2 separate regions of the Homo sapiens genome follow, and region 2 is linked to region 1. The links are contacts of gene promoters, found by promoter capture Hi-C in blood cells and fetal thymus (Javierre and others, 2016). All regions are on one chromosome and are shown on one strand. The core of a region is centred on a gene start or on the middle of the fragment in contact, and the rest is flanking DNA. Distances in the headings are between cores, read along the strand shown.

Evidence for each region. The method cuts DNA at HindIII sites, captures the fragments that hold promoters and counts their contacts. A CHiCAGO score of 5 or more calls a contact.
Region 2: a contact is called between a fragment that was not itself captured here and the fragment with the promoter of TMEM72 in region 1, in 1 of 17 cell types (neutrophils). The highest score is 6.1, in neutrophils.

Annotation. Positions count from the first base shown.
Region 1 is chr10:44,910,028-44,912,727 of GRCh38, forward strand. It overlaps TMEM72 (transmembrane protein 72), which reads left to right and starts at 1,310. Exons shown (of 5, transcript NM_001123376.3): 1 at 1,310-1,555. The coding sequence starts at 1,486. The region is part of intron 2 of TMEM72-AS1 (TMEM72 antisense RNA 1); the gene reads right to left. The HindIII fragment of the contact is 1,552 bases long and covers 908-2,459 here.
Region 2 is chr10:45,005,792-45,008,491 of GRCh38, forward strand. No RefSeq gene overlaps it. Among named protein-coding and RNA genes, the nearest start is that of ZNF22, 6.2 kb to the left of the region's middle. The HindIII fragment of the contact is 1,154 bases long and covers 835-1,988 here.

The DNA.
Region 1 (2,700 bases), core at 60-2,559:
AGGGGAAGGGAGGGGAGGGAAGGGCCAAACTAATTGTTCTTGAGTTTTCCGTTATTATTGGCAGACCTTGGCTTTCCATGGTTCAACTTAGGATGGTGTGAAAATGATGTACATTCAGTAGAAATTGTACTTTAAATTTTGGATTTTGATGTTTTCCTGGGCTAGCAACATGCCCTACAATATATTCTTACATGAGCTACTCCACACTTTATAACATAAACCTTGTGTTAGATGATTTTGCCCAACCATAAACTAAGTGTTCTGAGCACATTTAAGTAGGCCAGGCTAAGCTCTGATGTTCAGTAGGTTGGTTGGATTAAGTGCATTTTTAACTTAAAATATTTTCAATGTCTGATGGGTTTTTTGGGACATAACCCCATCATAAGTTGAGGAGCATGTGTATTGGGTTTGCTTGGAGTTTTTTTCCTTATTTGGTTGTTTTGTTTTCTATCTTATATGAGCAAAGGGGTAAAAGATTTCAGAAAAACACCTGAGAGATAAATCTTAATACCATTCAATCTAGCACATCCGTTAGTAAATTAAGAATGAGGGAAAGCCCACCACTGTCCAAGTGTAAAGGCTGGGCTCCTTGAAACAGCTACAGGGACACTCCAAGTACATCAAAAACACCAATTCAGCCAAAACTTCACATTTATTTTCTGCAAAAGTTACCAAGGCTCACAGATGCCTTTGGGTTTCCCCAAGGTCACCCGGTTAATTATTGACATAGCAACTCCCCTCGCAAAACAAAGAATCAAAATGATTTCCCACGTCCCATGTTGGGATGCATGTTAATGAGGAAGGAAGGCCTCTGCGTGGCGGGGCCTGAGCTAAGTATGTCTAGTCAGAGTCCAAATCCGGGACAGATTTGAAAAGCTTTCTAATCCACCTATACGCAGAAGAATAAAGCTTGGAACTCATTTCAAAAGTTGTTTCTACTGGTGATTTAAAGACACACTCCTCTCTCCCATATGCACATAAGCACAGACCTGCAAGAGCACTGTCCCCTCCAGAGCCAGACACTACAGGCCCCCAGCAAGTGTGAAATCCAGGTGTGACTTTCTAGGCATGGCTTGGTGAGGAAGGGCCTGGCCCACTCCTTGGCTCCCTCCTCCCAGCCAGAAACGGTTAATTGCCAGCTCCAGACTGCCTCCAGCCCAGCCCTAATCGCCGATCTCAGGCGGCTGGGCTGCGCTGGGGCTGAGCGGCTCCAGCCCAGGCTGGGGTTGTGTGAGCAGCAGGAGCATTCTTCCAAGGTAATGATTAAGCTGAGTGCCTGGCAAGGGCACGGGCTGAGAGCACAGAAGGTGAGCCCTATTCACACCTCGGCCAGGCTGCGGTGGCCAGGACTGGTTTGGGAAGGCAGGGCCCCGGTGTGCAGCCACAGCCAGCAGCCTCCTACCTACACAAGGGTGTTCGGGAGCATCTCAGGGCCGAAGACTTTGCTGCCTGCCCTGCCAGGACTTTGTCCTCACCCCTGGCACCATGCAGCTCCAGGTGTTCTGGACTGGGCTGGAATACACCTGCCGGCTCCTGGGCATCACCACTGCTGCAGGTAAGACCCTGCCTCCTGGCTGCTGATCCTTGCACACTGGCACCACAGATAGGGCTGCCTGAGGGGTGGGAGGTGGCCAGGAGACAGCAGGCACATCTGGCCACTTCTGTGCTTCAATTTTTTTCCCAAGACCCCTAGAAACACTGCTCTGTAGAGCAGCAGCAAGTGCAGTGGGGTGAGCCTAGGGCTGGGGACCAGAGGGCTGGGTGCTGGATCTTTGCTTGGCAAGTCACCCTCCCTGTGACCTTGGGAAGCCTCAAGATCCTCATCTGCAAAATGATTCCAGGGGCCACCCCACCTACGCAGAGAGTTGTCATGAGATGGAGGTGGAGACAGAAGGTGAAGATAGAAAGGGCTGGGCTTCGCTGTGTATCTACAAAAGGTCAACTGAGCTCATCCTGCTTTACTCAAACCATAGCCCTACCTCATGGAGAGAGAACTCCCAGTCATGAGCAGCTCTGCCCTGGAGGGACAGGCTGAGCCTGGCTGGACGTGGAGATCACAGGCTTCCCTCGGGCCCATGCTGGACCCTGTTAACAGAACACCCTGTAGGAACCCAGACCCCTGTCTGAGGTCTGACTGCAGGAATGCACTGTGGTCTTAGCAGCAGAGATGCTTCCCAGAGATGCTGGGCTCCTTCCTTCACCCAGCAGAATCACAGGGCTGCTCAACTGGACAGGAGGGCAGACTGTTAGAGCAGAGCCCAGAGCCACCATCCTGAGCCCTGCCTGCTCGCTTCCCCAGGGCAGGCCTGACCCTTAGCCCCATTCCCCCTACAGAGCCAGGATCTGTTTTGGGGAAATGAACAGGCAGAATTCTGAGCCCTTAACTCTGAGCCACATTGTCCCTTGGGGACAAAGAGAGACACACCCCCTATCAAAGCCCTTCCCCACCACTGGGCAAAAGCTTACCCACGGGTCTTACCAAATGGGAAAGTTCTCCTAGGTCAAAATCACATAGTGCTTGTTCCTGCCCCAGCCTAGTCACTTGCGTGATATATGACCTTGGGGAGCCCCTGACCCCTCTGAGGCTGCACTTTCTGATCTGTATGATGGGGACCTGCTGGCCAGGTGTTTGGACAGATTAAGGATGCAGGAACTGAGCATGGCTAAGTGGAACTGAGGATGAAAACCTCTCAGCAGAAG
Region 2 (2,700 bases), core at 162-2,661, 96 kb after region 1:
TAATTTAACGAGCAGTATGCCCTTCAGGACAGCAGAGAAATTGTCACAGACTAAGGTCTCCTATGCGCTTTGAGCATGGGGATGCATTACTCTCTTCACTGTGTTGGGGTATGTGGAGAGGAGCACAGATGAGGGATGTTTTTGGTTAATACAGCTCTGGACCAGTGGGAGATAGATGGAGCCAGCCTTGATCTAGAGATGTCCCAGGGTTTTCAGAGTGTAGTGACTATGGGATTTGGGGTTGTCTTCCTTGGGTAGAAGGTATGTTGTGTGTGGAAGGAGGAAAGAGGGATATTTGGTGAGCAAATACCCAAATACCCCACGTTTCCTGGCACCCTTACAGTGCTGTGAGAAACAACACTAGGTCTGCCCATTTGAGTTAGTGATGTTTTTAAAAGCTGTTGGGTGATTCTCTGTGCTCCTATTTCCCAGGCCAAAGTGGAGCTGACATTTAGGTAGTTCCTGAGTCTCTTGCCAACCTGCTTTAGGTATCCCATGAGTGAGAAATAAACTGTTGAGATAGGCCACAGATTTCAGTGTAGATTTGGTACCTGTCCTGATTGATGCACCCATCCTGCTTTTTTTGTGCATCTCTGGAGCCAATCATCAGTCTTAAAAGTTCTATCCTTTTAGTGGCCTGATGAGAAAAAACAGCTTTTTGAGTTCATATTGAGAAACACTGCCTCGCCTCCCCCACATTGTCTTTCTGTTTCTAGCCGATACTCTGTAATACTTCCATACTTCCATACTTCCTTTTTTTTTTTTTTTTTTTTTTTTTTTTTTGTCCTGGGACCCTTCTCTTTGTTCCTTACTGAGACTTAAAGGCAGCATTAAAGCTTGTTTGTGTGTTTTATTTGTATCCCATGACTCTCTGGCCTGGGTTGAAAGTCCCCACACACAGAGTTGCTAGAATGTCCTGTGATATCAGCCCTGGAAGTTGAAAATCTGTCCTGAGACTGATATGTGTCTTCAAACATGGGAGAAAGGGGTGACTGTCCCTCCACCATGCAGAGTCTGAGTGTGACAGGACCCATGAGAGGATGCTGAGTGGGTGCCAGGAGGACTCACCTCCAAGAGCAAGAGCCTGGTCCCTGTTGCACATTGATTTCAAACAGACCAACCAGCTTGGACAATTGAACTTCCCAATTGCAGTCATGATGAACTGAAGACCAGAGGACCTTCCTCCAATTTCCTGGTCCACATGAAGCGCTAGATTGTAATGTAACCCTAGATATGTTGAGGGGACTCCAAAGTAGGATTTCTCACCACACTGGTAAAATAGGGGGACTGCCTATTTTAGTCTCATTTAGGGATAAGTATAATGGCTGTTTCCTAAATTCAGAGTTCTGTAGTAAACTGATAACTAAGAGATTCTTTTCTGTCATTTTTCAAATAAAGCATTGTGACATCTGGTGAAAGAATTACTTTTTTCTTGTTTTATTGTTCAGAAGAGGTGCAAATTAATCCAGAACAGTTTGAAATGGATAAATTTTACTGCTGAGTGATGGAAAGAGACAAAAATGACAGAAACATAATTCATAGCTGCATTCCTTACAGTAAATCCAAGCACAAATAGCTCTATTGCTTAGAATCATTGCATTTAAATATAGAAAGAACAAATCTTTCATAGTCTTTTTATGGATGATAATTTTTTTCCTTTGATCCACATGGTTGGTAATGTATCAGAATAGATTGAGCAACTTAGTCCTACTAAGTAATGGCATTTTATAATTCTGGTGTTATAATATCTGACAGTATTTTATTTAGAACTTTTACGTCAATATACATCAACTGACATAGTTGTAAGTTTCTTTGTATGTTATCTTTGTCATAAATGTCGATTACGTCGTAGAGCATTTCAGGAACTGTGCCAAGTTCATAACACCAGGTTACTAATGTGTTATGCTACCTCCCAATTTGTCAAGAGACATCTCAGGCACAGATTTTTTGAATTCAGGAATTCAGGATGGGTATGCCAATTTAAATGAAGCTTCTGAGATGAGTAACCTTAAATCCCAGAGAGAACCTGGTTATATCTCTATGTTCAGGGCAATCTAAATGGGTCCCCTAGGATACAAGAAGCCTCTCTATTCAGTGGGATTAAAAGGCTAAATATCAGAATTTAAGCAGGTGAGTCAAAGAGGGGACAATATGATGATTCAGGGGCAAACAGTCATGAAGAGAAGTTCAGGTTCAGTGAGAAAACTGAGTCCATTCTGTGTATTCCACATAGTTTAATATAGCTAGTTAGACTTTCTGTTATGTCCATGTTTCTTCTTTGCCTGATAAGTTCACCACTTCAGTTTAACCCAGCATCTGTATTCCATTTTCTCTATTAGAATAATTGGTCTGGTTTCTCTTTTTGTGGCTAGACTTTGGCTGAAAGGACAATAATAAGAGAAATAAAACTACAAGGAGCTACTATTTCTTATGTATCAAAAGTGTAAAACCTACTCTGTTGGTAAGGCTGTGGAGAACCAGCCAAACTAAGGCTGATGGTGGGATACAAAATGTTACAACCCATACTGAGGAGGGATTTGGCAATATCTAGCAGAAGTATATATGCATTTACTCTCTGATCCAGAAATTATATTTCCAGAGTTTGTTTCCAAAGATACAGTACCAACAATATGAAACAACGTATACACATGGCTGCACATTTTTATAGAAAAAACTCATTTCCCACTAAGGCATCTGGCT